Linked DNA regions of Homo sapiens: all the other regions are linked to region 1. The links are contacts of gene promoters, found by promoter capture Hi-C in blood cells and fetal thymus (Javierre and others, 2016). All regions are on one chromosome and are shown on one strand. Each heading gives the region's core, a stretch centred on a gene start or on the middle of the fragment in contact. The rest is flanking DNA. Distances are from core to core; before and after follow the strand shown. Region 1 holds the start of TMEFF2 (transmembrane protein with EGF like and two follistatin like domains 2). Region 2 overlaps LOC124908062 (a long non-coding RNA gene). Region 3 has its middle 81 kb from the start of NABP1. Region 4 has its middle 22 kb from the start of CAVIN2-AS1. Region 5 overlaps LOC729254 (hCG2045843). Region 6 overlaps LOC105373812 (a long non-coding RNA gene). Region 7 overlaps LOC124908062 (a long non-coding RNA gene).

What was found. Contacts are between HindIII fragments. The CHiCAGO score rates a contact against its expected background, and 5 or more counts as called.
Region 2: a fragment that was not itself captured here is called in contact with the fragment with the promoter of TMEFF2 in region 1 in 1 of 17 cell types (activated CD4 T cells); the score reaches 5.3 in activated CD4 T cells.
Region 3: a fragment that was not itself captured here is called in contact with the fragment with the promoter of TMEFF2 in region 1 in 1 of 17 cell types (megakaryocytes); the score reaches 7.6 in megakaryocytes.
Region 4: a contact is called between a fragment that was not itself captured here and the fragment with the promoter of TMEFF2 in region 1, in 3 of 17 cell types (endothelial precursors, megakaryocytes and M0 macrophages). The highest score is 7.8, in endothelial precursors.
Region 5: a contact is called between a fragment that was not itself captured here and the fragment with the promoter of TMEFF2 in region 1, in 3 of 17 cell types (endothelial precursors, megakaryocytes and M0 macrophages). The highest score is 8.6, in endothelial precursors.
Region 6: a fragment that was not itself captured here is called in contact with the fragment with the promoter of TMEFF2 in region 1 in 2 of 17 cell types (endothelial precursors and megakaryocytes); the score reaches 5.4 in endothelial precursors.
Region 7: a fragment that was not itself captured here is called in contact with the fragment with the promoter of TMEFF2 in region 1 in 3 of 17 cell types (naive CD4 T cells, total CD8 T cells and megakaryocytes); the score reaches 6.5 in naive CD4 T cells.

The regions. Positions count from the first base shown.
Region 1 is chr2:192,193,632-192,196,331 of GRCh38, reverse strand. TMEFF2 (transmembrane protein with EGF like and two follistatin like domains 2) reads left to right here and starts at 1,399. Exons shown (of 10, transcript NM_016192.4): 1 at 1,399-1,979. The coding sequence starts at 1,808. RefSeq lists an enhancer at 878-1,453. The HindIII fragment of the contact is 4,792 bases long and covers 1-2,324 here.
Region 2 is chr2:191,728,484-191,731,183 of GRCh38, reverse strand. The region is part of intron 3 of LOC124908062 (a long non-coding RNA gene); the gene reads right to left. Among named protein-coding and RNA genes, the nearest start is that of NABP1, 52 kb to the right of the region's middle. The HindIII fragment of the contact is 4,709 bases long and covers 1-2,700 here.
Region 3 is chr2:191,757,662-191,760,361 of GRCh38, reverse strand. No RefSeq gene overlaps it. Among named protein-coding and RNA genes, the nearest start is that of NABP1, 81 kb to the right of the region's middle. The HindIII fragment of the contact is 4,933 bases long and covers 1-2,700 here.
Region 4 is chr2:191,823,134-191,825,833 of GRCh38, reverse strand. No RefSeq gene overlaps it. Among named protein-coding and RNA genes, the nearest start is that of CAVIN2-AS1, 22 kb to the left of the region's middle. RefSeq lists an enhancer at 1-86. The HindIII fragment of the contact is 3,647 bases long and covers 1-2,700 here.
Region 5 is chr2:191,802,718-191,805,417 of GRCh38, reverse strand. The region is part of intron 2 of LOC729254 (hCG2045843); the gene reads right to left. Among named protein-coding and RNA genes, the nearest start is that of CAVIN2-AS1, 42 kb to the left of the region's middle. The HindIII fragment of the contact is 3,576 bases long and covers 1-2,700 here.
Region 6 is chr2:191,786,141-191,788,840 of GRCh38, reverse strand. All of the region lies in intron 2 of LOC105373812 (a long non-coding RNA gene), which reads right to left. Among named protein-coding and RNA genes, the nearest start is that of CAVIN2-AS1, 59 kb to the left of the region's middle. The HindIII fragment of the contact is 1,772 bases long and covers 511-2,282 here.
Region 7 is chr2:191,710,543-191,713,242 of GRCh38, reverse strand. All of the region lies in intron 3 of LOC124908062 (a long non-coding RNA gene), which reads right to left. Among named protein-coding and RNA genes, the nearest start is that of NABP1, 34 kb to the right of the region's middle. The HindIII fragment of the contact is 1,342 bases long and covers 590-1,931 here.

The sequences.
Region 1 (2,700 bases), core at 150-2,649:
ATAGAGAAGGAGAGCGGAGAGAAGATAAACAAAAACAAAAACAGGAATCACTGAATAATCACACACCAAAAAGAAAGCTCTTCCCTATGGGGCATCCAAAACACTGAGACTGCAATAGTGACCCCGGTCATGGAAGAAAGATGTTCCTCTCCACCCTTGTCCCCGAAAGCTCTTGGTCCCGTTACTGGCGACTAAAATTCCATTAGGCTAAAGAGTGTGTCTAACTGCCTGAAGAATGCAGCAGACGGAAGGCGGGTCCCGCTATGCCGTTTGCCCTTCCCGCTGGAGAGAATGAAAGAAACGCGCAGAGCCAGAGACTCCTGCCGAGTTAGACCTTCTCTCGTCGCCCCAGGTCACCGGCCATCCGGCAAAGACCCGAGTAAGGAACGCAGGGTCACTGCCTGGGCCAACAAATGGAGCCCGCTCTCCCCTTCCCGGACGCCGCTGCCCGGCCGATGCTCCCGGCAACCCACCCGCGGCGTATGCAGAGGAGCCTTTCTCTTTCTCTCAGACCACTTGTCCCGACCAATCTGACCTTCCAAACACATCTGACCGCACCTCCCAGGTGGACACACTAATAGGCTACGGGCTGGAGAGGAGCGGGTGATGAGGAGAGGGATTCAAACCTGCGAACGCTTGGGCTGGGTCGGAGCTGCGGGGGGCCTGGGAGGAGAGAGGGGAGAAGAGAGAAGGAAGGAGAGCGCCTGCCGGGATGGCTGAGCTGCCTCGGCGAGCAGCCTTGGGGTTGCACGCTCTTGTGGGAGATGCTGCTGTTGCTTCCAGGTCGGCAAGAGCGGTTCTAACACCATCGCCTCTCACCCTCTTTCCTGTAAATCCCTAGAGAAACGTCCCTGGCCTCTCCGCCGCGACATTCCCAGCCTGCATCCCCCTACAGCCTAGGCGGCGCGCTCCCGCACGCTGGAGCGCCGGTCGCCAGCAGGACGCCCTCTCCCGCGCCGACTCGCCCCTCTCTGCCCTGCTGCTGCTGCTCCTCTGACACCTCCGCCCCCACCATCTCCAGCTCGGAGAGACGCCACCCAGCCGCGGCCCGCACTCGCGGCCCGGGGTCACGCGCGGAAGAGGGGCGCTAGTCCGGACCCCGCCTTCGGTAGGGGGCGTCCTGGAGCGGAGAGTGAGGCGAATGGTATATGAGTGTGCGGGTAGCCCACCCTGAAGCCCGAGCTTCTCATTTGAGCCATCCCCGCCTAGCCCCACTCGGGCCAGCGCCTGGCGAGCGAGCCCATCTGTGGCTTCCGCGGCCGCCTCCTCCTTGCATCCTTGCACCTCCTCGTCGACCCCTCCCTCCCGGGACCTGCATCCTGCTCCACCAATCAGAGCCCGACTGCCTCTTCCCACGTGACCCCGGGCGGGCTGAGGACCTGCTGCTTCCCAAACGCCAGAGGGATGCGGGCGGCAGAGCTCGAGAGGCGGCTGCCGGGCTGCGGGGCGCCTTGACTCTCCCTCCACCCTGCCTCCTCGGGCTCCACTCGTCTGCCCCTGGACTCCCGTCTCCTCCTGTCCTCCGGCTTCCCAGAGCTCCCTCCTTATGGCAGCAGCTTCCCGCGTCTCCGGCGCAGCTTCTCAGCGGACGACCCTCTCGCTCCGGGGCTGAGCCCAGTCCCTGGATGTTGCTGAAACTCTCGAGATCATGCGCGGGTTTGGCTGCTGCTTCCCCGCCGGGTGCCACTGCCACCGCCGCCGCCTCTGCTGCCGCCGTCCGCGGGATGCTCAGTAGCCCGCTGCCCGGCCCCCGCGATCCTGTGTTCCTCGGAAGCCGTTTGCTGCTGCAGAGTTGCACGAACTAGTCATGGTGCTGTGGGAGTCCCCGCGGCAGTGCAGCAGCTGGACACTTTGCGAGGGCTTTTGCTGGCTGCTGCTGCTGCCCGTCATGCTACTCATCGTAGCCCGCCCGGTGAAGCTCGCTGCTTTCCCTACCTCCTTAAGTGACTGCCAAACGCCCACCGGCTGGAATTGCTCTGGTAAGTCCAGAACCCCCGTCCCCGACCCTTTAACTCCGCAGAAGAACACGCGTATCCAGCACAGACCAGCCTACCCTAGCGCGCCTCCTCAGCCCCTCACCTCCTACTGCCCTAGACCCCTAATACCACCCACCTCTATCCAGAGAAACAAGGGGAACTGTTGCAGGCCCGGGGGTGAGGGGTGGTTCTGGGATGGGCAGAAAGTGCAGGTGTAGCAGGAAACCTTTGCATGCTTGCGCTTACATTGGAGCTGCGAGGATTTTGAGAAATATTAAACGGGATGGTTTTCTGGGTTCACTGTTTTGAAAGAGCACCAATCCTAGGGGAAACACTGAAACAGAAGCTTTGTCATCATTAAAGAAAAAAGTCTTACTAGGATGAGGAAGAAATAACTTTATGAGAAAGAATGAGCGAGAAAGCAATAAATCAAATGGTGACTGCAGGGGAATCGCTGATTCCTGGCAAAGGTGCCATGAGGTCGCACTGGTCTCCCGTTGAAGACCAGGTCACACAGATTCTAGAGGAGCTGGGTTTCAATAGAATTTCTCTCTCTCTCTCTCTCTCTCTCTCTCTCTCTCTCTCTCTCTCTCTATCTATCTATCTCTCTCTCTCTCTCATTCCCTTCTCTCCTAGGCGGCAAAAGACATTGGTTTTGCAGTCCAGATATGCCCCTCTCTTTGCTTCCCTAAGCTTCAAGGTAGTACAGGGGAGTTGAGAAAAA
Region 2 (2,700 bases), core at 88-2,587, 470 kb after region 1:
AATTTTCGTTGCTGGTTCTTCCTTTAACTCTTTTATGTTGCAGTGTCCCAGGGCTCAGTCTTTGATCCTGTTCTTTTCTATAACTACAATTACTCTTTGGTATCATAGCAGTATTGGGGCTTTCAGAACCAGTGATATGCTACTGACCTCTAAATTTACAAATCCAACTAGAAGTTGCTGATTTGTATGTCCTTGGATGTAAAATAAGCATCTCAAACACAGCATGCTAAAATCTGAATACTTAGTCTTACTGCCAAAACCTGCTCTACCCTCAGCCTTCTCTATTTCAGTGGATGGCAACTCCACATTTATCAGATGAAAAACCCTAGAGTCCTCTTTGACTTTGCTCTTTCTTTCACAGCCACATGTAATTCAACCACAAACCTTGCTGGCTGTTCTTTCAAATCTATGCAGAATCTGAATGCTTTTCACCACCTCTCTGCTGCCATGTGGTCTAAGCCAGCATCTCTCACCTGGCTACTGGAATAGTCTCTGAACAGTTCTCCCATTTCCACCCTTGCCCCTTTACAAATTAATCTGAACAAAGCATCCAGAATGATCTTTTTAAAACATGTATATCACTCTTCTGCTCAAAATCCCCTGCTTTCTCCCCCCATTCACACAGAATAAAAGACAATGGCTTACAAGACCTTACAGGCTGACAATACCATCTCACTCATCTCTCTGACCTCATCTCCAACTATTCTTTCCCTTAATCACTCAACTCCAGCCACACTGGTCCCCTCCTACTCCTGGAACATGGACCAAGCAGGCTCCAGTTTAGCCACTATGATTTATCTGTTCTCCACTCCTGGATGTGATTTCCAGCTTGGTTAACTCCCTCACCTTCTTTTCATGACTTTGCTCAAATGTCACCATAGCATGAAGTTTTTCCTTCACCACCTTTTTTATTACTGCAGTGACACACTGCAACAACACACCTGTACAAATACACACACACACAACACACACAACACACACACACGTAATGTCAATCTTTACTTACCGTATTTCATTTCTATTTTCTATGTCATTTATCTTCTTCTAAGATAATTGTTTATTTATTTATTCCTTTGCTGTCTACTCACCATCTTTCTTTTCCCTACCTCCCTATCCTATAATGCAATAGAAAAGCTCTTTAAGGGCAGGGATCTTTGTAATATTCATTGGCCAACTTCAAACCTACAAATTCATGTAACATGTGCAACAAATCAATAAACAATGTCCCCTTGGAATTTACAACCCACAGATTTCAGGTACAATTTCAGGCTGTATAGCTAATTAGAAGAGCTTGAACTCAGACATTCTGAATATAAATTCATTAATCTTTCCACTATATTGCTCTAACTTCGACAAGAACCTTTCTCAAACCCTTGAAACACCAATACTTATCGATTTTTTTCAAGTTAATAAAATAAAATATGTTATTTTAATTTGGTCATTGATTATTAGCACAGATAAACACTTTTTCATGATTCTTTGCTGAGTTAACTGTGAATTGATGGTGTACTTTGCACCTCCAACACTTCTGTTCTGTGGCTTAGAATCATTGCTTTCGTAGACCTCTTTACTTTCTCTTTACTACAATTAGCAACACTAGCAGATGATTTTCTTTTATAGCCCATTTTACACAAAGAAACAAAGTTTTTATCACTTCAGGAGCGCTAGTGTGCATGATAATGAGTGTAGAACAACATAGCCAAGTTAAAATTCAGAGACTGTTGCTGAACCCCTCCCCCTTACTTCTGTGAGTCATTCCAGACACATCAATATTGCAAAGCCTGCAACCGAAATTCATTCCTCAGCAAAATTGCAAATCATTACATGTTAAGTTGCTTGAAAATAGTCAAAACTGCAAATGTTTAAGCCTCAAATCCCAATAATCTACTGTAATTGGACTCAATCATTACAACAGACATCCATGAAGTAGGGGGTAGGACACAGATGAAGAAGAAAAATATATGGAAATCCAAATAACTAGGAGCTTAGCGCTTAGAGTTAGAACGTTTTCTGCTTTGGGCAACCCTCTACTCTTCCAGGTGGTGGCAGTAGGAAGGTAGTAAAAACAATGAAAACTGTGACAGCAAAAAAAAAAAAAAAAATTAAATTAAATTAAATATTATGACTATGACTCATAAATATAAAGTGTATCAAAATTTACATAACTTACCAATAAGGGAACCAGTAGGATGACAAAGCTCCAAAGAGTATTTGGAGAACTAAGCAGTTACAGAAATTGAAGGAACAATGTTGCAACAAGATTGCTAGGGTAGATCTATAATTGGTTGATATTTTACAGAGCAATAAAACCATAACCTTTCGGGTTATATTATTCTACTAAACAGAAATCATTTGCTTCTCTACCAGACAAAACTCTATGCATTAACATGTAATTTCACAGAACCTGGGCCCTAATCAATAATAAATCATCTGTTAAACAAAGGGTAATCTCCCAAAGAATTAAGTAATCCTGTTAGACAGTGTTGTAGTCTGACACAGAAAGGACACTCAGCCATCCCTTTGCCTTATTTCTAATTTGTTGATACTTTTTTTAAAGAATTAAAGTATAGGAGCCCTCTCTTTGAGTTGCCTTTGGAGAAACACACTATTCTATTACATTAGAAATGTGTCTGGTCTGTTTTGAAAGAAAAATTCCTCCTGGTTCCGAGCTCTAATAAGATCCCTTCATATCACAGCCTA
Region 3 (2,700 bases), core at 129-2,628, 440 kb after region 1:
TGATTGAATACTATGCAGCCATTAAAATTTGATCTTTAAAGATTTTTAATAATATTGAGACTATTCTCACAATAGACTGCTGAGGACAAAATATAAACAGGGTCTAAAACTGCATGTATTATAAAATATATGCAAATAGAAGGCTAATGATGGTTAACTCAGAGCCATTGGATTATGAGTTATTTTTATTTTCTTCATTACACTTTTTATATTTGCTAAATTTTTAATAATAAATAATATTACTGTTATAATCATTTTTTAAAAGGTAATTTAAAAATTTCAAAGTGAAGGATGGCAGATGTTGGCCATTGAGCCTTAGAATTCTAAGCAGGATGGAAAATAAAGTGTTTTATGCCCCCAAATGGCAGCTCCCACACATCAATCAGAGACCAGCCATGCACATTATTCCTTTTAGAAGCAAAGCCAGACAGCACTGTGCGCAAATCAGTATCTCACAGTTACGTACCGTTGCCAGGAGGGAGACAACACAGAACAAGTTCAGCACAGAACCCCAACTTCAAGTAGAAACAGGTTTTCCTCCTTGCTGTGGGCCTAGAAAGGATTACAAGCATATTGCAGAGCCCTCCAGAGTCAGAAGGGAAGAATGAAACCACATGAATTTTAATTAAATTCTAAAATAGGACATAGAAACTAGTTGGAATAACTGAAGAATACGCCAGATAAACACATCAGCCATAGCACAGTTCACAATACAACTTCCCATCGGGCAAAAAATACAAATGATAATTTTGATACGGACTCCTAGAAGGAACACCCATTCCAAATGTGAGTTAGCTCCTTCACATTGAAAAATATCATTTTCAATAAGCTAATGGAAAGTTAGCTTTAGGATAACAGGGACTTTTTTAAAACCCTGTGGTGTCATTGCTATATGTCTGTTGACTTAAATAGTGTCTGTTGCCTAGTGGGTACTCAATAGATAATTATTAAATTAAGGTTGGATCAATAGAATTACTATAAACCTTGGTAGTCTATCTTTAGGTTAATTGACCTCACTTTCATAGGATTTGAACTCATAGCCAATCAGAGCCAGCAGTGAGGAATTAATGAGCACAACTTGTACACTGGAGAGGATATTATGTTAGGAAAAATCCTATCTCAGTATCTGAAAAGGAAGGTAAACCTCTTCCAATTCAGGTCCGTCTGTTTAACATGAGAAAACTAATATCTGAGTCTAAAGTGAGTCACCCCAGGACACTTCCCTAATTGATAGCGAAACCGAGTCACTGCCACCTAGTGGAGGGGTCTGCTCCTCTCGCCCTTCCTCACACTGACTAGATGGGCAGGTGGAAGCATGTTCCGTGGAGCCAGCTGTATGCCTCCTGCCTCACTCTCCTCTCAAAATAGGACCACCCCCCATGCTACCCCACACTCTACACCTGGCACCTGCCATTCTCATATTACTAACTCTAAAAACTTGATGTGGGCAGCATTACTTTTATCAAGACTAATGGCAAAGATCCTTTTTCAGATCAGTTGCCAACTGATTTTGAAACCAGCTCAAGGAATGTCCTTTCTGAAGGCACCGAATATTGCAAGCCTAGTAGACTTCCTGCTCCTTGCAATTGTGTTATTCATCCTCGAAGTCTCTACATTTGACATTTTGCCATTGTCGGCTCATTAAATAAATTACTTATTAAAATAAAAGTGCATCCTGCATTAAGTGCCCGGCCTGCTGACATCGAGCTGAGGAATGATTCCAATCGGCTTTCAGTGTCATCTGATTGCATCGAGCCAGCCTGGCTGCCAGCCCCCAAGCGGCCCTATAGAGGCCAGGGACACACAGAAATTGAGAGCACAGGGTACACAGTAAGGCCTGCTTCCAATGAAGAGGAACACTTTTACAATTTGAGGGCCAAAAACATAATATGACGCCATTGTGGGCCACTTTCTGTTCTTAGCAAAAATCTTTAATTTGCAAATTTCCTTTCTTATATTCAAGGAATATAAGAAAACATAATATATTTTCTTATATTCAAGGAATATAAGAAAACGTAATATATTTTCTTATATTCAAGGAATATAAGAAAACGTAATATATTTTCTTATATTCAAGGAATATAAGAAATATATTTTCTTATATTCAAGGAATATAAGAAAATATATTTCTTATATTCAAGGAATATAAGAAAATATATTTTCTTATATTCAAGGAAAAGACCTGGCAGGATCTCTCCCAGATAGGAGTTGACAGTAGCTCACCAGAAACAGAGACAACACCATTATGAACAAACTTCAAGGCAAAGGAAAGACTTGAATTCCCTTTCTTCTCACCTCAAAATCCGTTTCCAAAACTAAAATTCAAGCAGCAAACATAACATTTGAAAAATGAGATGCTCCCTCCCCCTCCATTTTCACCTGTTTCTCTAGAATGTGAAGCAGCAAATGTAGATTTCTGTGATTTCTGTGCAAGGAAAATTGGAGCAGATAGGGTCTTAGCTGAGCTGGGAATGTGATAAATATTTTCATGGACTGCTGAATCTCACTAATTGGATACTTTAATGAAACTTGAGGTATCTCTTCCTAACTTCTAACACACTTTTAACCCTTACAACTTGTATGGGCAATTTTTTAAACAGAAGAATGTTTGATCCAAGAAAATCAATTTTTTTTTCAAACAGAAAGTCCAGTGGTAAATTAATAACAGCTCCTAATAAAGAAAGGATCATTGGTTTTTTC
Region 4 (2,700 bases), core at 1-2,500, 370 kb after region 1:
GGTCGGGAAGTCTCAGACTAGATCAGGACCTATGTCTCCATTTCTCCTCTACAGAGCACTCACTAAGCCTCTACCTGGGCCAGCCGTGGTAGTTCATGCCTATAATCCCAGCACTTTGGGAGACTAAAGCAGGAGGATCACTTGAGGCCAGGAGTTTGAGACCAGACTGGAAAACATAGCAAGGTCCCATCTCTACAAAAAATTAAAAAATTAGCTGGGTATGGTGGCATGTGCCTATAGTCCTAGCTTCTCAGGGCTGAGTCAGGACGATTGTTTAAGCCCAAGAGTTCGAGATTATAGTGAGCTATGTTTGTGCCACTGCATTCCAGCCTGGGTGACAGAGCAAGACCCTGTCACTTAAAAAAAAAAATTAAATTATTATCTGCCTCATGCATGAGGTAAACCAAATTCCCCAAAGAACCTCTAGGAGGAAAGCACTGCTGCCCAGGAGAATAGTTTTTATATGAGACCGTGAAAGATTGGATAAAATTGGGCCTCTGGAATGGTGCTGACATGCTGTCTTAGGGTGACAGTGACCCTGACTTTGGAGGGACACAGAACAATTCAGGACTCTGCCGATTCCTGGGCTTAAGCCACACACGTGAGCTGGCATAATAGCTCTTTAGACTGCGGTGCCACCTCCAGTGTATGAAGGAACCAGGATGGCACAAGGTATCCTCTACCTAGAGCTGTCATTCTACTTCCTCCACAGGCTCTACACCATGGGTCAGGCTTTGGGGTGGCCTTGCCCATCTGCACAAAGAGCTTTCAAGATCTTTGCTCTCCTTTACCCCGTGACTCTTCAGATCCATTTTCTCTCTTGCCTTACATCATGTGTTGATGTTGTAATGTGCCAGGCTGGTCTTGAGCCATGCTAGACAAGGGATGGACATTTCTTGTGCAAATGGGACCACTCTTCTTATCCTCTGTAGGTCCCTCACTTATTTTCCCCACTGGTAGAAGTGGTGGAAGGCAAACATACAGCCAGCACTAAAAGAGATCACATTGTAGGAATACAGTGGCCACTGCCTAAAGCATTCAGCAGAAGACATACTGGAAAATACAGTATTCTAAGTTTACATGCTGTAAAATTCTATACAGTAAATTTTACATGACCAGAAAACAATGTATCATTCACATTTTTCTGCATATGCTGGATAAGATTTGCATTTGTGGTCATCATCAACAAAGCGTAGTAACAGCCTTTGAGACAGTCATGAGAAACCAGTAGTCATGGGTGACAATATGAATGATGCAGCCTCATGAGTAATGATGCAACCAGCATTAAATAAATGGTATTAGAGAACTGCAGAGGCAGAGGTCTATACTGTTTCAGCACAAACAGAATCTAAAGAGCCGTTGCATTGTGAATAATAACAGCATTGCTACCTGTTTCTCACATGGTGGAAGATATGAAATTAGCCAGGAACCACACATTTGACAATAAAGAACCAGAAGATACAATGCCAATCTACTGGCTGATATAAGGAATCATTACAAGCAATGATTGGACAATAAACGAATGTGTAAGTAGCTCCACTTTACCCATTTTCTGAAGAATAAACTTTGTAACACTTTTTAAATCAAATTGTTTATACAGACAGAGGACCCACAAAAACTATTTACCTGAGGCCCTGCACATTTTTGGGATGACCCTGAGGAAAACTCTTGGGGAAAGGAAGCAGCTAACCTTCCAACATACAGTTTCATCTTTTCTCAATATAGATTTCATATTACATGGTTTTGGAATCTTCATGACTTAATGCAACAAATATTTTACATATGCAACGAAATAATTACCACTCTGTGATACAAAGACCCTCTGACACAGACGGGACTTTTGCACCTTTTTTTTTTTTTTTTTTTTTTTTTGGTAGCTGTTGGTCTGTTGCATTTTTTCCTGCTTGAAGAGGGTTCTCAAGTGTTCAGATGAGGCTTGCTTACTTACTTAGTCAATCAACTGCAGTAAAAGAGTTCTTTCTAGACTGACCTTCAACACCCAGAGTATTTTTGGATGACATCACTGTCATTAATTGGTAAAAACTCAGAGAATGTAAAGTAATTTTCAGGTTAGCCTTAAATATTTTAATTATAGAAGAAAACCTGCTCTAAAAACATATAAATGCATGTTAATAACATATACAGGTTATTGCTGAAATATCTCTTGGATCTTTTCCTTTTTTATGAACATGGATAATTAAGGATTAACTATATTTTAAGGATTCCGTTTTACCAATGGTCTGTTTTTCCCACAGTCGTATCTACAAAAATAATTACTTATTCACAAGTGATTAATCTTCCTTGACGACTTAAAGTATTAGTCTAATCATGCAATTACTAGCCAAACAACTAAGAGAGGCTAATAATGAACTTCTAGTTTCAGTTCTAGTTCAAGGAATCTTGGCTTATTTCTAGAGGGAGGCAAGAAATAATTAGAGAAGAAGACTGAATTTTAAACCAACATATTAAACCAACTTAAAGCGGTGACATAGCCAATTTATAAGCATATGAAAATATCCTTGTGTCCTTCCTCTTTTTTGTTTTTGTTTTTGTTTTTTTGAAACGGAGTCTCGCTCTGTCTCTCTGGCTGGAGTGCGGTGACGCCATCTTGGCTCACTGCAAGCTCCACCTCCCGGGTTCACGCCATTCTCCTGCCTCAGCCTCCCGAGTAGCTGGGACTACAGGCGCCCGCCACCGCGC
Region 5 (2,700 bases), core at 75-2,574, 390 kb after region 1:
TTAAAGTGTTACAACAAAATACTCCCATTCAGTAAATTTGTCTAATGTTAACCTAACTTTGAAAAAACAAGTTATCTAATGTTCCTGCATAGCCCCTTTCTTGACTAGAAGCAGAGAGCTTCTCTGTGCTTGCTAGAAATCTCCAGCCACCCAGCTAGCATCAGCAGGATTCCATCTGTTTGTATCTATGTTCCCTGATCATAATCTTGTCTCTTTTGTTAAATTCTTTGCAGTCCAGCCGTAACGGCCTTATTCCTCCCCAATCCCAGGAATTGTCATAAACGGGCCTTTTTCTGGAATGTGCGTCTCCCTCCCACTCCCCTACTAAACTCTCTCCATCCCTTCAGATCGCAGCACGGTATGAAAGACTCCGTTCTGTGCTTTTGCAGAGCTTCATACTTCGAATCGCAGTTTGTAATCACATCTTTGTTTCCTTGACTATTTGATTAATATCTATCCCTCCCACTAGCCTGGAAGACCCATGAGAGCAGGGTCTATGAATGATTCATCACCATCGCAACCTTACCATTCCTGGAACCCAGAAGAAGCTAAATAACTCTTTGTTAACAACATGAATGGTCTGACCCTGCTTGAGAAACACAAAACCTAGATCACCAAAGTAATCATGCATCAGCTAATGACAGGGATACGTTCTGAGGAATGCATCATTAGTAATTTTGTTGTTGTGAGAACGAAATATTCTTACAACATATAGTGTACTTACAGAAACCTAGATGGGATGGCTACTATACACCTAGGCTCTATGGTGGCATAGCCTATTCCTCCTAGGCTACAAACCTGTATAGCCTATTACTGTGCTGAAAAATGTAGGTAATTATAACACAGTAATTATTTATGTATTTAGACATATCTAAACATAGAAAAGAGACAGTAAAAATACAGTGTAAAAGATAAAAAATGATATGCCCGTCTACAGTATTTAGCATGAACGAAGTATGCAGGACTGGAGGTCCCTCTGGGTGAGTCAATCAGTGAGTGATAAGTGAATGTAAAGGCCTAAGACACTGCTGTACGCTACTGTAGATTTTATAAACACTGTACACTTAGGATACATTAAATTTATTTTTAAAGTTAAGCAATTGTGCTATGACATTACTATGACTACATCACTAGATGATAGGAATTTCTTAGCCCCATCATAATCTTATGGGACCACCGTCATATATGTGGTCTATCATTGATAGAAACGTCATCATGCAGCACGTGGCTGTGTATTCAGAAGGGCCATTCTCTGAGTATCATCTGCAACCCAACCCTTGCCTTGCAAGGTCCAGGGAAACTGTGAGGTATGTAATGTTCCATAAGACCTTTTCAGAAACTTCCCTAGTTAACAGGGAGCCAATGAGGTAGAAATGAAAAGTGTACTCACCTCGTGGTCAACACTACAATTCACTCTAGTGGGCCCACACCCTTCGATGATCATTTTTCTGGGTCTTCTCCATTGGGCCCTAGTTTCATCTGTCTCACTCACTCCTGAATCACCAGCACTTAACAGACTGCCCGCTATATATTAGGTGCTCAATAAATATTTATTGAATAAATCAATGGCCAATCAACACCTGACCTAAGACTTCCCCTTAGCACACAGTTCCCTGATGCTGCCCAGTGGCAGAGTGTGTGGCACATATGCATTTGAGTTTTTCCACATTAATCTCACTTTCCCTTTCTAAGTCACTAATTATGTTTTCTCCTTGACTCATTAATTTCCACACATAAACTGCCATTTCTCTCTGAAAGGTTGGTAGCAAAATAAGTTGACCAAAAGGACTCTTTTTCTCAAAACTCAAAAAACTAAAGAAGAAAAAAATTGTCCGACTCTTTTTTCAACCAAATGTGCCTTTGAAAGATTTGATATTTGAGCTCAGCATCCAACTCTCCAATTATCTAAATAATTCCACAAGTACAAAATACCATATTTACATATGCAAAGCAAGAACAAGAAATTAGAATACTTAATTTATTCACACAATTGAATGTTGAAACAACTGCAAATTCAGACACTTTTTTTTTGCAAATTCACATCTCCAAAGTAGCCTTATCATGTACTTCTTTATATAGCCTCATGGTCCTCAAAATCTCATCTTCAAACAATTGACATTTTAGAGACTTAAGTATTTAGGTAAATATTTGAAATATGTTTGCAAATTGAGGTTCCATAAGCAAGGTTGTTAACTTACAATCCTTACCTGAAAATGAGGTCATTGGTTTGCAAACATTTTGTTCTAATACCTAGGTGAGGAAGGAGGAGGGGGTACATTGATGGCTTAATAGCTTTTTCTTCCCAGGTAGACTCATTTAGGATGAAGGTGATTATTCAGAAATCCATTTTATTCCAAGCAAATGTCTTTACCCTGGGAAAATAAATAGAGCTACTTCTGGCGATTGTTGCCATTTTATTCAGTGTTCTTCCTTATTACTCCCAATAGTTTAAATAAATATCTATAATAGTCCCCATCCTCCTTGTAATCCCATATAAAATTTACCCCATTCAAAAAAAAATGTATTCTAATGAAGTTATAACCTTTCTTCAGTCTTCTAGGTCAACACTTAATGCTCTCCTTTTCTAATTTTATACCATTTCACAGCAGAGTTAAGGTTCAACTCCATCCTGGAATGACACATTTTCCACCCAGCTATCCTCTTGCTGTTTAACGATGAGCATCATTCCTGGGGGAATGT
Region 6 (2,700 bases), core at 147-2,646, 410 kb after region 1:
CCCAAACCCAAACAATGAGGAAGTAGCCTTTGAATGCGATTTTTCAAGTAGATATAATACCTCTGCTCTGTTTCCTGTCTTTCTCTAAAAATCAGTCCATGCTTACTTATTTTAATTGTAGAGAATTGTACAAATTTTTACTTTTGTTAAAAAATGCAGAAATAGCATAGAATTCTGACTGTCCTTTCCCGTGCTTTGTGTCATAACTGACAGCATGGAGCTTTAGTAGCCTAAAGCGATACAGCAACAGTGCTGTGGGTCATGTTTTTAACTTTAATGACAATCTGTAATTGCCTGCAGCCTGCCTCATTTCTGGCCCTGCTGATTTCTTGAGGACCTGTGATAACACAGCTCCAACTTGGTCCTCTAATCAGGCTCGTGCCCTCTTTTATGTGTTTTTTATATTTTTTCAGGGTTATCAGTCTTATAGTAAAGTAGTCAGAGTCTACAACTCTACCTCCTTCTTCAGGGCATTCCAAAAAATTAGAATTTCCTTCTAGCCTGCAAGCTTTCACAACCGTCTGCTTTTTCCTGTGGCTGGAAGTGGTGAGAGTTTGAATAGCAACAGCTTTGCTTCAAATTGAACTGTCTGATACCGACCATGAAATCCCCTTTAGCTTTAATCTTTTTTAGACATTTGAAATTTTCAAAATACTGCTTGTCAGGGTAAGTTCCCTTTTCCTCCAGTATAGCTGGTTCACATTTGACTTGCACTTAAAAGATGTTGCAGTTATTTCATTCTTCTTAGAAATATTACCATCCTTGACTGTTTACAGAAACATATGTGTGTTCATTTATTAAAAAAAATGGTTTTTGATCACCAACTAAGTGTTAAACATTGTCTTAGAAGGTACTAGAATTCAACAGGGAACAAAGTCTCCATCTCATGGAGGCAGACAGTGGTTGAGATAGACATGATGGCTAGAGAGAAAGGGGGCCTATGACATTACCATTAAACAGGCAATCAGCATAAAGTAAGAGCCAGCTGGATGTGGTGGCAAACAGGCTGGGAAAGAGGACGTCAGGAGCCAGACACCCTGGTTCAAATCCTGCCCCCTCATTGATTAGCTGAAATCTTAGGAAAGTTGATTAACCTCACTGTACCTCATTAGCCTCATTGATAAGATCGAGACAGTAATGGTTCTACCTCAGATATTTGTTGTGAAGGTCAAATAACTTAATACTGTAATGCCCTTAAAGAAGTGTCCAGCACATAAAAAAGTGCTATCAAGTATTTGTAAAATTAAAAAAAAAAACAGATAGTAGGAAAGCATTATGATCTGGGAAGTATATTTTGCTCTGGGAGTTCATTGCAAGTGTGCCTAACCTAGTGTAGGAGAAGTCAAGGATGCTCTTTAGATCTGAAGGAGCAAGAGTAGCCACTACAGAGTGAAAGTAAAGAGAATAGAGTGGTGTCTGTATAGCTAGAACTTAAAATGCCCATGAAAGACAACTAAAAATATCAGGACAACAGTAGGGACCAAATTAAAGAGATTGAGACTTTCAAATTCCAGAAAGCTAGAGGTCAAGAATATACATATTAATAGTGTAGAAAACTATAAACATCATGGATAAAACAGAAAAATATCCCAAAATGCTAAAATTTAGAAGATCCCCAAGATACTTGAAAGAGTAAATAGAGCCAATAGAAGAAAGTGCAGCCACTTCCCTGATTGTAAAAGTAGGAAGCTAATTTCCCAACAAAGTAACACAGATTCAAAATAAACAGCGGCTTCCTGGGAAAAAAAAAAAGCCACACAGAAACAAAAACAAAAACTAAGATATTCTGGAGATATATCCTTACTTTTGAAGGAGGTGCCACCTCCCCCAACCCCAAAAAGAAAAAAAAATAAACTGATCGAGTTGGAAGAAAAGCTCATTCTTAGAATAGCAGCTCTTCTCTTATCAAGTCTTCTTAGCAGTTTCCAGGAACAAAATACAACTTTGTGGTTTATGCAACCCACACTGCCTACATAAAGATGGATGGCAACAGCTTAAGGGTTGCCCTTCCAATCAGTGATCTAAAATAGATTTCATATTCTACTCCAGGGTATTATTCTATTTCCATTAGATTGAATCACATGAAATTGCCATTTTTGTAAGTCAAAAATGATTGAGTAGCAGCATTTTCATATGCTTAAACCTAATATATGTTATGGGAAATTTTTAGTTTGTTGTGATGCTTTTTGCTGAAAGATAAAACCACAAGAGCTGCAAGTGTGCTCTCAATTTCCCAATGAACAGTAAAGTAATGCAGAGCTTACCATTTCATGGTGAAAGCTTATGCACATGCTCTAGTTGCTGGAAAATGTGTCTCCTTATAGAAAGCAAAAATGTGCCTCTTTATAAATTCTGCCCATTAGTACCAGTTCTTTTCTCTGAAGTACCTGGAATAAGCAATATTTCCTTCCCACTAGAGAATCCTGGATACCTCACACATTCTCCAGTCTTTCCAGTTATGTGTCATCAGCACACGTGATTAGCATGTCCTCCATAGTTTAACTCTAGCCCATGAAACAGCAATCTAGGTACACTATGTCAGCTTGCTGAGATTCAGCCTACTCGCAGAAGCATTCTGTTTACACAGCTTTCTGTAACTTCTTAGCCTTGGTATACCATACACAGATATGGCATGTATATCAGAAAAATACTTCGCATTATTTTAAGGAAAGGCATTATGATTTGAGTACCACAATTCTG
Region 7 (2,700 bases), core at 11-2,510, 480 kb after region 1:
AAATGGATCCATAGGAGACAAGTCTCTGAGAGCTAGGTTAATCCAGGCCCCACCAAAGGGATAGCCCTGTCTTGGTATGCTGATGAAAGGAGACTTCTGAGCTCCAGAGCTGGGGACTAGCTACATCCTGATGGTGGTGTCATACTTCCAGGATGAATGCCATAAGCTACGGACATTGACTGGCTACAGCTGTTGACTGGCTAGCCTCCCAGGAGTCACCTCTCTGCTTTACTGTGTACCTTTGTAAGCATCACCTGTCCCCACAGAGAGCCAGCTGAGGAGAGGAGGAAAACGGCAGATACCACTTGGAATCAGTGGTTTGTCATGAATACAAAAAAACTCTGGAGTCCCCCAGAAAGGTGTGAAGAATTTTTAATCCTCTGGATTTATCTACAGAGCAAATAGAAGCAGGACCAGAAAAAAAAAATCCATTTTGTGTCTGTCATTGTGACTATATTTTGTTGGGCCAGTGTCTCTGGGAAACTTTGTTTATACCATATTTATCATAAACCTAACAACATTCAAAGTCACTTACTGTTGGTTTTTATGCATTCCACCCAGTCAGCAATAGCCTCCAAATTACCAAGCTTGTCTATTGATTCTCTTGGTGTCTCTAAAGGATTTGACATTGTAGTTCACCAGTTCTCTTCTCTCATTAGGCACAACAATGTGGCAATATTAGAGCTCACTTCCTATCTACTCCAGAGCCTCCTTCACTAGTTCCCACTTCTCCCGATCCTAAGTGACTTTTCAGTCTTCAGATCTCTAGTCTCCATCTTATCTTTTCCCCCAGCAAGTCCCAACCCATTCTGATTACTCAAAACACACTCAATTAATATTTACATATTGAGCAGCTCCTGTGTGGCATGCTACCATCTCCCTCCATGTTACTCAAGCCCATCCTCAGTTGGTGTCCTGAACTTTAGATGCATGTCCGTAACACAAGTGCCGGACATGTACTTGCTGATGGCCTACCATCACCTCCATCAAAGCACAGTACAACATTTGTGCTTTCTTGCAAGTCAAAACAGCCTAAACACAGATGACAATTATTGACTCAAGCCCAGATATAGAGTAGATTTCAGGATTCTGGCTTCTTTTCTATCTCCCTCAGCTCTGCTGTCTTCCATGGGTTGCTTTAATTCTCAGGCAGGCTTTTTCATGGTAAGATAATTGTTGCTGTAGTTCCAGGACTCAAATGTGCATCTCAGATGATGGAAGAGAGCCTCTCTTCCACAGCCACCGAACAGAAGCTAAGGGTTTTATTCTGACTGATAAATTGGGGCCAGTGTCTACCCCAATTTGCAGATGTATGATCCCTGTGATCAGAGAAATGCTATGAGCTGTTGGTGTACGGCATGGCTACAGGCTCATTCCTGGACTAGTTACTCTGGCAGGCAGATGTGATTATCATGAGTAGCTTAGGCCAAGTACAGCCTATGTCTGGAGCCAGAGGTGTGGTCAGTCCCACCAAGAGCATGGCTTCTAAATAGCAGAAGAATGGTGGAATGGATACTGGGAAGAAACCAGTAGTTTTAACTATAGGATCTTGTTTATTTGTAACCCAGTGAAAAGGAATAATTCTCTGTAGCTAGGTTTTCTAGACAGCTAAGGGTTCACTTCTTATGTTTTTTAACCAGTTTGAACAATATAGTTGAAAAGTGTATTTTTTTGTATTTCTGACTTTTAAAAGATATATACCAAAATTAATTTAACCATTTAATGACAATTTGAGGTCATCAAGATATAAATGTATTATTACATCAGTCACAATGCAGTGACTGACCTCAGGATTACTGAGCTGTGTGTGACCCCAGAGCACTCTTCACTTTAAAAAATTATATCTACTTTTTATGACTTTTCTTTTTCTTCTCTTTCTCTAAATTGCTACTTCTAATCTACAGTGGTATTGAGAACCAGATAATAAAGCTTTTAAAATTTCATATAAATTTAAAGTAGAAATGAAATTGCCTAGGAAGAAATAGGCAAAAGTGCAAACTATGCAGGCAAAGTGCATATTGCCTCTGCATAGGGACATTAACAGTTTTTGTTTGTTTGTTTGGTTTCTCTTTTTTTTCCTATAGCGATTAAGAATAACTTTATGATTTTACACACACACACACACACACACACACACACACAAATGAGTGAATGAAGTAAATAGGATTTGTGTGGTGCCTTCAAGTTCCCCAAGTGGAAAAATGTTCTAGCTGTTAATCCTTGCAGTCTGTGACAACCCTCCTAGCAAATTAGAGGCCTTGTTGTTGAATGCGTGGTTGCCTGGTATGTTTGGCGTTAGAGAGCAGAAGTGGTCATGGAAAAGCCAGAACATATCAGGAGGAAGGTCAGTCACCTATCTACCATGCGGGCTTAGCAGGGAGCCCTTGACCTGGTAGGTCACCCCCAGGCAGAGACTGGACTACAGTCTTATAAAGAGGGAAATTCAGTCTTGCCTGCACCCCAGGGTTGGATAAATGGTGAGGGTGATGACTCAACACTGTGGAAACTCAGAAGTGACAATTTAATAACAAACAATGTAAAGGGATCTGCTACTCACAAGGAATTTTTCTTCTGCCCTAGAAACTAGATGAGGAACCAAAGTATAATTAGAAGGTAGATTTGGTTAGGATAAAATTAGAACAAATGATGAAGTGGCATAAGGTTAAAATAGACTGGTGCATCCATCCATCAACACACTGG